2 separate regions of the Homo sapiens genome follow, and region 1 is linked to region 2. The links are contacts of gene promoters, found by promoter capture Hi-C in human tissues and cell types (Jung and others, 2019). All regions are on one chromosome and are shown on one strand. Each heading gives the region's core, a stretch centred on a gene start or on the middle of the fragment in contact. The rest is flanking DNA. Distances are from core to core; before and after follow the strand shown.

Region 1 (7,412 bases), core at 4,726-7,225, 1.0 Mb after region 2:
GAAAAAAGTAAAAAGGCTCTACCCTGATCCTTTGCCAGGAGCCCTGAGAGTCTGGCCTCTGCTTGGGGGTCTGCAGGCCTGAGCACTGCAGTTCCTCAATTGCTCACTGCCTTCCTCTGGGGGAGGAGCAGAGAGGTCACAGATGCTTGGCTTGCCCTGTGACCTGGTGCAATTCACTTAACCTCTCTGAACCTCAGTACATCCACAGATTGAGAGAGATAAAACTCACATGCAGGGCTCTTCAGGAGACTGTATGGAGAAGTGCTCTGAGAGCTGCCAGGAACAATACTGTCATCACAGATGCTAAATCGGGGAGCCCGGGCTTTTTTTTGTAGAAGGTGGTTTCCCTAGCTCCTCTATTCACTTACTGTAATCACAGAATCATGGATCTTGAACTGGAAGGGATCTCAAGAGGTCCTCTGGTCCAGTCCTGTGGCATAATTACCTGTATTTTGTAGATAAGATTGTTTTAAGTGTTCCTTATTTTGACATATCTATCATAACATGGTGCAAATAAGCCCTTCTCCTCTTGGGGAGGTGTGACTTCCAGGTGTACATGTACGCAGGTGCTCCAGCCAGCAAAGAGGTGGAAGAGGACAGGAAAGCCATGCCCCCTTAGAAGCAAGTGCAGGTTTGGCAGGATTTCTGGGCAGAAGATCCAAGTTTTGCCTGTGTCCTCCACACCCCACCCTGGCCCTGTAGGCCCAGTGAGTGTGTGAGAATCATATTCTGCTGCCCCTCCCTCCTCTTCTCCCTGAGAAAGTGAGGGATGCACCTGGTTCTCAGGTCTGGCCACAGTGTTTTGAAAAGTGGCTGCCAGGACACATGGTATTCTTCGGTGGTTTTTCTTTCAAAGGAAAATCTCCTTGTGACCCATCTCCTTGAAAAACAGCCACCGCCACCACCGCCGCCGCCACCACCACCACTGCACCACCACCAAAAAACTTGGAAGGAAGAATAGGACACACTCCCCTGAACTTTCCCCTGGCCCTAGAGCCCCATTGAATGTGGGGGCCAGAACCAACCTCTTGAGCTGCAAAAATGTTTTCCATCTTCCCACCAGTCAGGCAAGGAGGCATCAAGGCCTGGACCTGAGAATTGATCAGGGGGATATTTAGGGAAGACAGGGGAAAATGTGAGTATGGAGTGAAAAGCCGCTCAACTCTGGCCTGAGTTGCTAGATTTAAATCCAGGAGATTTTCCTCACCTAAGCGATGGAGATGGTGGGTCCTTTCTAGGGACTGAGGCCAGTTTCTCAATAACCTTTACACGCACCAGGACGCTTTTGAGCCAGAAAGTGAAACTCGGAGAGTCTGTTAATAAAATGCCATGGAGAGGATTGTGCATGATTTACCGTATCCAAAACCAGAGAGAGTTTCTTTGTGGAAGAAAGCGACTTGTGCCTTCCCCAGCATCACACACACACTTTCCTGGCAGGCTCAATGGGTTTCCAAACATTTCGTCACCGTCTCCTCCTGACCTTGGTGTGAAAGGAACTAGCAGCGTGGCCCGCCAGCAAAGCCATCGGGGGCGCCAGCCTGGGCGGGGGATGGGGACGGCGACCGACTCGTGAGTGGAGGTGAGGTCTGCTGGAAATCCCCAGCCCCGGCCGCCGCCTGAGGTTTAAGGACGCCTTCCCCGGCCTTATTTGGTCGCAGGAAGTGGGCGGCGCCGGGCCTGCTGGCTGAGGCCGCCCCGAGACAGTTGTGCTGATGAAGTGGTAGAGCTGGTTCCTGCTCGCCGCGGTGCCGCGCGCGCCGGCCGGCCGCTGGGCGCTCCGCGCTCCCAGCCTCGAGTTGTGCAATCCTTTGTAGCACGCCAGAGTCCTCCTCCTCCGCTGTTGCCTCTCGCCCTCTCTCTTTTTTTTTTTTTCAAGCTGTGAGCTCAACCGATGAGTCAGAGCCGTGCAATCCTGACACTGCATCGCAGGACTGGGGGTGACACGGAGGGAGGCAGAGCGCTCGCGAGGCGGACGGCACGGGTGCGGGGCGCGCCGAGGCTCCTGCATCGCAAGCGGGGGGTGACAGCCCGCGCGTCCCGCCCGGGCCCTGCCAGCAAACTTCTCAGCCTCGGGAGGCGCGGGCTGGCGGAAGCCCCGCGAGCGCCGCGGGGAGGCGACGGCGCCTGTTTGTTTTTAAAATCGGGAGTGCGTGCAGGCGGCTGGAGTCCCGGAGGCGACCGAAGGCGGCGACCCGCGGCGGAAGGGGGACAGCCGAGCCCGGAGCCCGGAGCCCGGGCAAGAGCTGGGTAAGTGGGGCTGCCTGGCCGGCGGCCGAGGCCTGCACGCGGCGGGGCCGGCGAGGGGACCCCAGGCGGCGCGCGAGCTGTGGCTGCTCGCACGGCGGGTTGCAGCTCTGCAGGCGCGGCCCGGAGAGGGGGCCGCGGGGGCCGCTGCGCTCGAACTTCTGCGGCCTGGGCGGCGGTGGAGCGGGCGCGTGTGGCCGTGCGGGGGCCGCCTGCAGCCCGCCGCCCCCTCCCCCGCGGTCCGCGCCCTCGGCCCGCAGCTGCGTGTGCAGCGCAGCCCCGCGGTGTTTGTGCAGCTACGCAGCTTGCGCGCGGCCCCCGCCCACCCGGGCGCGGCCCCGCCAGGAAAGCCCTCCCCACCCGGCGGCCCGCGGCGGCTCGGGAATCCGGCTGCTCCTCCTCCGCTGGAGAGAAACGTGGTGTCCGTGGGGACCGGCTGACGTGACGGAGCCCAGGCCCGGAAGGCGCGGCGAGGGGCTAGCCAGCTGAGGGAACTTGGCGCGGGAGCCCCTTCCCCTGCCAGCGTGCACGGGAAAGTGGGCCTGGACGCGGCGTCCACGCCAGGAGTTTGGGGGACAGAGGTGCAGGGGCGTTGGGGAACTGGGGCAAATGCAGTCAGCAGAGGCCTAGGCTGGAGCGCTTCGCGCGGGCGGGCGCACCTCAGACCTGTCATCCTCCCGCGCGCCCCCGCACGCCCGCGCCGCCGCAGCCCTCCCAGCCCGCGCGGTGCCTCGCGGGGAGCTGTGTTCCCTGGTGCCTGGCGGCAGCGCCGAAACCCGGGATTCGGCCGGGCCCTGCATATGGCCGGCTTGGTGGAGCTGGTCACGTCGCCTCCCAAGTCGCACATGCAGGACCATGTGTGTCAGGTTGCCCCCAAGGCCTCTGGGTAAAGGTCTAGGGGAGGAAGGGGAACTTCGTGTGCCCTGGGGCCTTCAGGCTTCAGCCCCAAGGCGGGCCGACATGGAGGAGGTACCTGCCACAGAAAGTGGAGGCCGGGTGTCCGTCCCAGCCCAGCCTCCAGCGAGAGCTGGTGAGAAGATGAAAGGGGAAGTTATATGCCCCATTTAAAACTTTGTTGGTCACAACTACGGTGGCTGCTTCCTGTTTCCACCATCCCACGTGGGACCTGTGTGCCAGCCTGTGGAGCCTCGCGCGGGGGGCGGTGGGATGGGGGAAGAGAGGCTGGCCACGGAGGCCCCGGTGGCCCGCGTATGCAGGGGATCCCTGTTGGCAGCTGCGGCTGGGGGAGGGAGGGGATGTCTGGCTTGCTCCAGCAGGGGGAGCCTGGCCAGGTGATCTGGGATCTTCTTGTTCCTGTAGCTTCAGGGTTGAGACTGAAGGCCTAGTGAAGGTGGACCGAGAAGCCAGTCCTCCCTAGGGGGCCTCAGCTGAGGGGAGAAACCACCTGTCTTGCTCTAGAGCCTCCCACCAAAGGTGTGGCACACGCCCCTTTTGGATCAGAGAAATGCACCCTTTCCTTGGGTGTTAAGTGGCTTCAGAACCCAGGGAAAAGGAGAAGCCTTCCCGGGTTGAGAATTCGTAGGTCTTCCTTTTCCAACTGCTCTGGACAGTGAATAATAGGAGCGTAAACATTCAATTACTGTGATAAACCATCTCGTTGCATGGCCCTGGTCCAGTCTCCACTCTAATTGGATTGGCCTCTGGCTGGTTACTCTGGTCCGTGTAGCTCCCGGGGGGACAAGGGGGTGAAGAACCTGGAGGATGCCCCCAGGTCATACAGCTTGCCAGCTTGCTCTGGAACAGCCTAGCCACTGCCAGTGTGGCCTCTCCAAGTGCCAGCAGAACCCCCACTCCCGTGACTCTGTCAGCTCCTCACCCCGCCCCAGGAAAGAGCGCCCTGGAGTGCCCATGGGGATGAGAATTTAATTTTTACATGTGGGATTTTAAAATAGCCCCAGTGTTTGACCCTGTGTGCTGCTGCTTTCAATAAGTGGAACACAAGAAAAGACAACATGCAGTTGTGGATTCAGCTGAGGGCCTCCTGTGTCTAGAGTCCCCAGAGAAAGGCTGCCCAGGGGTGCCAAGACCTCTGACAGAAGAGGGGAAGGGGAATGGGCCCAGTCCAGGAATCTTCAGGTTGAGAGCCCCTCTCTTGCATTTGGGTCTCCCAGAAGAAAACTTTGCTCATGCTGGGGTGGGGACAGCCACAAAGTGGCTGGGGGTTTCCAGCTTATCCTTCTAATCCTGTTTCAAATGCCACTTCTGAAGGCTGTAGCCATCTTCTGAACACTCATTTCCACCTTATGTAGTTATTTGTGTACATACTGCAGTGTGGTGGTCAAAAACAAAGACTCTGAGTTAGAGTTCCTATACAGTATCTCCTTCATAGAGTTGCTGTGAGGATTCTGTGAGTTAGTATACGTAAAATGCTTAAAGCACATTTCAGTATTTGGTAGCCTCTGCTTGAATGGGTCCCACAATGCTGCTTGGCATCTAGTAAGTGTTTAGTGTTTTTTTTTTTTTTTGGTTGTTAGAGATAGGGTCTTTCTCTGTCGCCCAGGCTGGAGTGCAGTAGTGCGATCTCAGGTCGCTGCAATCTCAGCCTCCTGGGCTCAAGCAATCTTCCCACCTCAGCCTCCCAAGTAGCTGGGACTACGGGTACACATCACCACACCTGGCTAATTTTTCTATTTTTGTAGATATGGGGTTTTGCCATGTTGCCCAGGCTGGTCTTGAACTCTTGGGCTCAAGAAATCCACCCACTTTGGCCTCCCAAAGTGCTGGGATTACAGTCTTGAACTACCTCACCTGGTCTTAGTGCATGTTAGTTGAACAAATTAGTGAAAGATCTCCATCAAAAAAAATGTGTACTTGTCATGTGTTGGGCCCAGTGAGTCCCTGCTCCTGGAACCTCCTCAGATTGCATCACTGGTTTCAAAAATGTCAGTCCACCGTGGGTGATTCTGGGGCTGGTGAACCCAGTTTCCTGGCACTGCCCTGTAGCTGGCCTTGTGGAGTGCATGTGTCGGTCATCCTGACCCTAAGGGGACCTCAGGGTGAAAGAGTTGTGGAGCCATCTCCCTAGGGATCTGCTAGCCTGGGCACTTCCTTTGGTCAGCCCAGATTGGCACCCTTCCTGTGTGTGTGCAGGCGTGCATGCATCAGTACAGAAGCAGCCTGGGGCTCCATTCTTCCCTGACTCACTGCAGGTGGCAGGAAGCAGAGCCAGTGGCCGCATTCTGTTGGAGGAATTGCTTCTTTCTGCACATGAGAACTCTTGACTCTGGGACTGAAAAATTGCATGCTGGGCCGGGGCTAGGGTGGAGTAGGCTGAAATCCCCAATTCTTACTAAGGGACCTGCATTTGCATTCGAAGCAACATTCAGGATACTGTGAGACTATGAGCTCATTTTATGAATCAGAAGCATTACAGCATAACTTTAATGTTGGAAACTGCAATTTGGAATCCAGATCACCCTCCCTCCACCTCAGCGCGCACGCGCGCGCGCACACACACACACACACACACACACACACTGACATGGGCTCTCGCAGTCACACACTTGGGAGCAATAATAGTTGGAGCATCAGTTCAGATTCTGGAGGCCTCCAGCAAAATTCATCCACACCGACTTCTGCTTCCACACTCAGAACGCCGTTCCTGGATGGTGTGTGGACAGTCACTTGGGCAGTGACTGAAGGAAGTCTGATGGGTGCGTGGGAATGAGGCCTGGGCAGACCTGAGTTCATACCCCAGCATCTCCTCTTGCTGTGTGGCTTTGGGCATTGCTTAACTTCTTGGGCCTCAGTTGCCTCACCTGTAAAATGTGGATGATACTAGTACTTCATAGGCTGTGAAGATTAGACAGGATTATGCATGCAGAGTGAATGACACATACTAGGTATTCAACAGATGGCAACTCTCATTTCACCAGTTCCCACTGGATCCAGTGTGTTTGCCTTTGACTCCTATCAAGGAAGAGAAAATGAAGGGTGTCCTGTTTATAGTAGGAAAGCAATCTACCAGGCCACTGAAGCTTGTATAAATGAAGTTTATTGTGCCCTGGGAACAACAGCTTGATCCACTCCACCCTAGACATGTGGCCCAGACCCAGTGTCTGTGTGCCTTTGAGAGGGACTGTGGCCCTGCAGCCGAGGGTTGAGGGCCCAGCTTCCCAGAGATCAGATTGTGCTCTCAGGAACCTACCCGCCCAGGCCCCAGGCTGAGCTGCTCACGTGGGTGGGCAGGAGGAAGGCTGCTTTCTCAGCCAAGGAAAAAAAGTCCCCTGTTTGCTTCACCTGAAGCCTCGCAGTGTGACCTCGCAGGAGGTTTGGGTAGAGCCAAGGGTGGGAGTTTTTCCTTAAAGACTGCTTTGGCTCTTTTACCCATTAAAATTATGTGCAACGGTGAAGGAAACACCAAGAATTATATAAGAAGAAAGTTGCCACTGTCAGAGGAGAGCCGGAGTTGTGCTGGGGTGGGGCTGGGGGTCTCCCTGAGGGCTGCAGTTGCTGGCTGTCATTCTCGGCTGGTGGGGAAGAGCTGGTGGGGAAGAGCCGGGGCTTGGGGCTGAGGCTTCCCTGGCAGCCGCCCTTGCTGTTGCTCTTCCTGGAACACAGCCTCGTGCTGTGGCCAGCCAGGGAAGGTGCTCCCTGTTCCCTCTGCCTTTCTCCCAGCCGCAGGGAGCTTTCGTGGTGAGAGCATTTTTTCCAGGCAGTGCTTCTTCCTTCAGGAGTCCTGGGAAGGAAGGAGAGTGGGGAAAGCACAGGGCAAGGTTTATCCCAGTTAAAGCTTGGATGGAGAGAGTGAGCTACAGTAGGCTTGTAGCTGGCCAGAAGGGGCTTCTCTCTAAAGCCGCTCAGCTTCTCTGGGGAATTGGAATCCAGACAAGAAGGAAAATGGTGAGAGATTTTGATTCCCTGCTTTTCCCAGTAGTTGGGCAGACAGAGGACCCTATCCAACTTACCGTTGCCAGAACTTGCCATTTCTTTAGTAGGTAAGGCCCCCATAGCTCAGAAATGGGCTTAAGTGATAACTTGCAACCCCGAGACGGCATGTGAGCTGGCAGTTCCTGGCACAGATCCTCCTCCCCTCCTGGCCTTCCTCTGTCTGAGGCCCCAGCTGGTCTTGGGTCATAGTCCTAATTCCAGAGCTGGGAAACCATTTGGGACATCTAGTCCGAATCCTTCATTTTCAAATGGGGAAG
Region 2 (7,039 bases), core at 4,302-6,801:
TGGGGAATAATCTAGTGATATTTTATAATCCCATAGCACTCTGTACGTCTCCTCTTAATTACTTACTAAATGTCTTCTCCCTTCCCCCACAACTGAAACAAGAAGTCAATGAGGGCAGGTCCCATGTCTATCTTGTTAACCATTTCATCTCCAGTATTAAGCACAGTACTCATAGTACCTGGCACATAGTTGCTAGTCCGTAAGTATTTAAACATTAAATAAATGATACCTCTAAAAACTAATCAAAGCCAACAGCTTTAACTAAATAAATCAGTCCTTTAAACACATAGAAAAATTAATTATTCAAAAAGACACATTCCGACCGGGCGCAGTGGCTCACGTCTATAATCCCAGCACTTTGGGAGGCCGAAGCAGGTGGATCACTTGAGGTCAGGAGTTCGAGACCAGCCTGACCAACATGGTGAAACCCCATCTCTATTAAAAATACAAAAACTAGCCAGGCATGGTAGCATGCACCTGTAATCCCATATACTTGGGAGGCTAGGGCAGAATTGTTTGAACCCAGGAAGTGGAAGTTGCAGTGAGCCGAGATTTCACCACTGCACTCCAGCCTGAGCGACAGAGTGAGACTCTCTCTCAGAAACAAACAAACAAAAAAACACATTCCATTAAATCATCAACACTTTACCCGAAAAACTAGAAAACACCTGGAAAAATATCAAGTATTTATCTTGTCCTTCCTATACCAACTGTATTTCCAATCAAATATCTGTGGCAAAAGTTTTTCTTTACATAACTCCATATAGTAACTGTGGAAGAAATGGCAGAAAAAAAAAATCACCAGGTTGCAACCTCTGTCTAATGAAATAATTTACTTAGGCAAGGTCTTTCTTCAATTGATGAACCAGTAGACTGAAACATTAGATGCAAGATTGATAGAAAGCTTTACAGTAGAGGGACCAATGGCATTACTAACAGTGGGACAACCAGGCATCGGGTGTCCCATGAGGAATGCAACACTTGCCAAAAGAAAGCTGAACTTAAATGAAGGTTCCAGAGTTAACTTCTAATTCAAAAAAAAAAAAAATGTGGAAGACATAGGAACAAGTCAAATGTGACACCATGAAAAAGCAGACAATGCAGAATGTCAGACATTCTACAGGAAAACTGACAACAGATTTTTCATCAAGTTCAAAGACATGAGGTAGAAAAAGAAAATAGGAGGGACTGACCTAGGTCAAGGGTTCTCAACAGAGGGTAATTTTGTCTCCAGGGGATACTTGGCAATGTGTGGAAACATTTTTGGTTGTCGGACTGGGGGCTGCCACTGGCATCTAATGGGTAGAGGTCAGGGACGCTGTTAAACATCCTACAATGCATAGGACAAGCCCCTCCACAACAAAGAATCATCCTGCCCAAAATGTCCATAGTGCCGAAGCTGAGAAACCCTGATCTATACTAAGAATCTTTTCAGTATTCTGTTTGGACTCTGACTTGAACACACCAAAAAAACATTGTTTGGGAACAGACTGTGAGGACAGAAAACAACAACACTGTTGAGTCAATTTGGGGTATTTTAACATGGATGGTATCAAAGAATTATTTTTAGTTCATTAGTATGATGAAACAATAAAGGAAATCTGAACGGATCAGGTATTAGATGATACCAAGAAACTGTTAACTTTGTTAGGTGTTAACAATGTGTTTATCTAAGAAAGGGTCTTGGCCGGGCACGGTGGCTCACGCCTGTAATCCCAGCACTTTGGGAGGCCAAGGCAGCTGGATCATGAGGTCAGGAGTTCAAGACCAGCCTGACCAACATGGTGAAACCCCGTCTCTACTAAAAATACAAAAATTAGCCAGGCGTGGTGGCATGCACTTGTAATCCCAGCTACTCAGGAGGCTGAGGCAGGAGAATCGCTTGAACCCGGGAGGCAGAGGTTGCAATGAGCCAAGATCGCGCCACTGCACTCCAGCCTGGGCAACAGTGTGAGACTCCATCTCAAAAAAAAAAAAAAAAAAGAAAAGGTCTTGGTTTTGTTTTGTTTTGTTTTATAGAGGTACTTGACTAAGAATGTAGGGATGAAATGACATAAGATCTAAGATTTGCTTTAAAATATTTCAGCAGAGGCCAGGTGTGGTGGTTCATGCCCATAATCCCAGCACTTTGAGAGGTCAAGGCAGTGTACTGTTTGAGCTCAGGAGTTCAAGACCAGCCTGGGCAACATAGCAAAACCCCGTCTCTACCAAAAAAAAAAAAAAAAAAAAATAGCCAGGCATGGTGGCATGCACCTGTAGTCCCAGCTACTTGGGATGGCTTGAGCCTGGGAGGCAGAGGTTGCAGTGAACTGAGACTATGCCACTACACTCCACCCTGGGTGACTGACAGAGCAAGACCCTGTCTCAATATATATATATGCAACAATAATAAAAAAGGCCTAGGTGAAGTAAACATGGCAAAATCTTGATAGCTGTTGAATCTCAATGATGGGTATGTATGGGGAATCATACTTTTTTCTCTATTTTGTGTATTTTAAAAATATTTCACGATAAGAAATTTTGAATGACACATTCCAAAAACAAAATATGAATCAAAGAATAATAAATATGTAGAAGGATTGCCAGAGACTGGTACTGGCATGAAGAAATATTTATCATCTAATAAACCAACATATCCTAAGTCTAGAACATGACAACTCTCGTATTTTATTCAACAAATCTGTGGAGAGCCTACAATTTGCAAGGCACTGTCCTAGGTGCTACGGTAATAAGAAGATAAGTAAGATAATTCCTGTCTGCAAGGGACTTACAATCTGAAGAACAGAACCAAACCAGATGGGTGAGCACAAGCAGGGCTTCATGGAAACCTTGATATTTGAGATATGCCTTGAAAGCAATACAACTCTAAGGGGAAACAGAGGGTTGAGGAGGTTAGGATGAATTCTAAAAAGAAGAAAGAAAGCCACAGGCTTCAAGGCTCTTCTTGATCTGGTCTATGTGCACCACAAGTCTCATTTTCCACCACTCTGCCTCTCACCAAAGAATTGCAGGCACTGAATATTCAAGACACTGAGTTCATTACAGAAAAGGGTACAAAGGCAGAAAAGTAAAAGCACTGTTCATGGTAACTATACATATTAAGGCCTGATCTGACACACACACTCCTCCCAAAAAAAGCCAAAAATACAATTATTTTGTCTCTCTGTAAGGTCAGAAAAACAGTCTAGTAGAGTGAGAATATAAATGTCCTATTTTGGCTCAGACTAACTGAGAATGTTTGACAACAAAAGCACTAAAGACTTCAGAGTGGGGTGGGAAAGAGGACAGAAAGTCTGTCTCTATAATAGAGCAATCTGGGGAAAATAAACTGGTGAGATGGTACAAATTTGATGTAAGCCAACAGAATCATTATTCTACTACTTTATTTCAGCATCCCAAGTGTTTTCTCCAGAAGATGTGCCAAGCATCATTTCTTAAAACAACTTGCTTCTGTTCTTAATTTCTAATGCCAAACCACCGTAAAATTATAATACTGCATCCCTATCTTTTGGAAATCTTTTATAGGTAAATCTGAGCGTTTATATTACAAGATTCTCTTTTTTCCTTAGTGAATCTAAGGTAAATTAGTAATCGCTGAAAAAGTGTCTACTTTAGGAAATCATAACAATTGATTTATTCTGCTTTAGTTTGACCTTCCCTCTCTCAAGGGGGAACTCGTTTATTACTGTTACCCTGTCAATTTGTCTGTTCTGCGGGATAAGAATGGCTGACTCTCTCATGAAAAGATATCACCAAACTTTTTTTACGTTGGCCAAATTGCAAGGCTGTTTCTTTGGAGTGAATGGTAATGACAATGAAACGCAGAAAATTGCTCATTATCTTAAAACAATCTTTAAATAATATGAGAAAAGGATGTCTGGGTCAATTCCTAAAATGGACCAATCGATCCCCAAAAGGGTCTCGGGACTCATCTATGTATTGTATATGTACCTATAAGCATAATTAGGATGCTCCTGGTAAGACAAGATTTCCATCCTTTTTCTGAAACCTCTTAATTCAGGAAGCTGACAACTATCCCTGGCCCCTAAGTAATATTTTTAAAAGAAGCTAACTAATCATAAAGTTTACAAACATTCAAGTGTCAGCCCTTGGCGAGGCCTCTTTTTCATGCTTTCTCTCAAATGGAAACTTTCGTTTAAAATACAATTTTAAAACAAGACCCTCTGCAACAAAATCTATTTGCAACAGCAACAAAATCTAAGAGGATGGTCAAAGAAACCAAGGAATGTATCTGAGAGGTAACTTTTGAGCCACCCCACCACTGTATGTAATCCATACACATCTACAAACGCTGTTTTTTTGGTAATTCACATCTAGCTAATTAAAAAGCTGAGCTGTCAGCCCTCTGACTCTTACGGAATCCTTTGGAGTGTTAGCTAGTCATTGTGTGTTGGAATTAGACTAACCACTGGTTAAAGCCCTGAGGCCTGCTCATTCAGGGCCCTCTAGGTGAAAGATGAGGTTCAGGCAGATGCTTTCTTACCTGTGGAGTCATCGTAGAGGGATCTGGCTCAGGGGCGGCTTGCTGCTGTTCAGTACTCTTGTTTTTGGCCCCACTCTCCAAAGGCTCTTGCTGGACAGTTGTCTTATTTCCAGGGGGGGCGGACGGTGGTGGTGGAGCTAGTAGTTGGGATTTAGAATGGCCCTGGGAGGGGCGGGAAGGAGATGCCTGAGAAGAGGGCAAGTAGGACTGGGAATGGCTCAAATAGGATTGCGAGGAAGAGGAGGAGGATGAGTAAGAAGGGGTGGGCGCCAGGTAGGATTGGGAAGGTGGGGACTGCGAAGGGGACGGCTGAGCAGGAGGCAGGTAGGGCTGAGATGAGGTCGGGGGGTAGTAAGAGGGTGGCGGCTGAGGTGGGGGCATGTAAGACTGAGATGGGGGCATATAGGACCCAGGCGGCACAGGGGGAGATTCAGGGGGGGATTCCAGCTCCATTGGAACCAAACCAGGAGGCCCGTCTCGTTGGTGGTGGAGCATCTGGTGTTTGTACTGCTGCTGCTTCTGATAGCTGAGGGCCGGCCCGGGTGGCGGGGGCATCGGTGGCGGTGGCGGCTGCCAGTCTCCGTAGCCGCCCCCCGGCATCACTGGCGGGGGCGGCAGAGGGGGCGGAGGAAGGTGGTGGGGCTGAAGCACGCACTGCATTTGCTTCTGGTGCATCTGCTGCAGCTGCTGGAGCTGCGCCAAGTGCTGTTCGCGGAAGCTCATGAAGCCCGAGGAGGAGGGGGCCGCGGGAGTCGTCGAGCTCGAGTACCCGGGCCCCGGCGAGGCCTCAGGAAGCGCCACTGGCGGCGGCGGTGGGACCGGTGGCGGCGGATAGTGGCTGCTCCCGCCATACCGGCCCCAATTCGGGTACATATCGAAAAAGAAGGCGCAGGGCTCGTCCTGGCGCCGTTACTCGTCGCAACCGACCTCCAGGAGCCGCGGCGGCGACGGCGACAGCCGGAACTCGCGGCGCCTACAGGCCCCGGAGCGTGTAAACGGAGCGCGCCAGTGCGCCGGCGCTCCCGAGCTGGGCCCGCGACCGGGAAGGCGGGGACGCGACTTGGGCGACTACGTCTGCGCAGTAACCACCGAGAGGAGAACAAAGGCGAGATAGAGCGGTCCTTTACTTGGCGACTCGTGGTTGCCATCTTCCTTTGGGTTCAGATAATGTAGGCTCCAGTAGAATGTTCTCATAGAACTGAAAAACCATAGAGTCTCACAGCCGAAAGAGGTGGTAGAGATCCTATCGCTCCACGGGTTCATTTTTGAATGAAAAAAAAAAAAGGTTCCATTCACAATAGCAACAATCGCAACAACAACAAAAAAACATAAAGCAACTAGGAAAAACTCTAACAAGAAAGATGTAGGACTTATATGTAGAAAGCTACAGAGTCATAAAGAAGCATATCCAAGTAGGATGAAATTAGACTTCAAATAATGGAGAGGCTTACCATGATCCTGGGTGAAAAGAGGAAAAATTGTAAAGATGTCAGTTTCTCCCAAATTAAATGAATAGACCTAACTCAATTCTCCCCAGAAATTCAACTGGGAACAAAGCTGTGAAGAATGGAAAGGTGTTTTCAAGGCAGAGTGTAAGATTACACCAATTCCTGCAGACATATAGTGAGTAACATCTGCAGGAATTGTAGAAGGGGAGAAATGGAATTTTTTAGACTGTCTCAACACATATAAATCGGTGTTGCAGAATCTCAGAGCAAAAGCAAAGAGAGCAAAAACCAGATACAAAGATGGTCTAAAGACAACCTGGAAGATAATCTTCCAAAAGCTCTCAACGTAATACCAGACATAAACTCTTACTTTAGCTTGAGTGAATCACTAAAAAGCAAAGCTAATACACTGAATTCTTTTGGGTGTGTGGGGGGGGGCGGGGGGAGGGAGAACTGTGAGAATATTGTGTCAGTGCATCACTTGAGTAACATGCAAATAATTGACCTTTCTTCCATCTTAGCAACCCAGATCTTCACCTCTCTCAGGAGGTGAATGTGAATGGAAAGTGGAGCAGCAAGGCATCCTTCAAAAGGAAGAGCTTCTGTTTTCAAATAGAAATTTAGTTATGTTTCTTTTAACTTTTTATTGAAGTATAACGAATATACAGAAAATTACATGTCAAAAGACAAAATTACAACAAATTTAGTTTAAAGATCTTAATTAACTTTTACCTGCTATTCTAGAATTGGGCAACGTCTCATTCTATAAAGCAGAAACAGTGTTCCAATGAGCAGAACAATCGGGATAATTTCATAGACAGAAAAGAAACGCAGAGGCAGGGCGCGGGGGCTCACTCCTGTAATCCCAACACTTTTGGGAGGCTGAGGCAGGCAGATCACCAGGTCAGGAGATCAAGACCAGCCTGGTCAACATGGTGAAACCCCATGCCTACTAAAAATACAAAAAGTATCCAGGCGTGGTGGTGCTCACCTGTAATCTCAGCTACTCAGGAGGCTGAGGCAGGAGAATCACTTGAACCCAGGAGGCAGAGGTTGGAGTGAGCTGAGATCGTGCCACTGCACTCCA

Evidence for each region. Contacts are between HindIII fragments. The study calls those that stand out against the background at their distance.
Region 1: a fragment that was not itself captured here is called in contact with the fragment with the promoter of YLPM1 in region 2 in 1 of the 25 tissues and cell types used here (hippocampus).

The regions. Positions count from the first base shown.
Region 1 is chr14:73,754,598-73,762,009 of GRCh38, reverse strand. It overlaps MIDEAS (mitotic deacetylase associated SANT domain protein), which reads left to right and starts at 1,707. Exons shown (of 13, transcript NM_001367710.1): 1 at 1,707-2,247. It overlaps MIR4505 (microRNA 4505), which reads right to left and starts at 3,263; the gene lies at 3,191-3,263. RefSeq lists enhancers at 1-384, 1,300-1,629, 5,431-5,510, 6,914-6,993, 7,024-7,093 and 2 more and silencers at 2,050-2,289, 2,420-2,569, 2,930-3,039, 5,350-5,644. The HindIII fragment of the contact is 7,118 bases long and covers 2,417-7,412 here.
Region 2 is chr14:74,761,828-74,768,866 of GRCh38, reverse strand. It overlaps YLPM1 (YLP motif containing 1), which reads right to left and starts at 5,551. Exons shown (of 21, transcript NM_019589.3): 1 at 4,505-5,551. The coding sequence starts at 5,377. RefSeq lists an enhancer at 5,504-5,843. The HindIII fragment of the contact is 19,465 bases long and covers 1-7,039 here.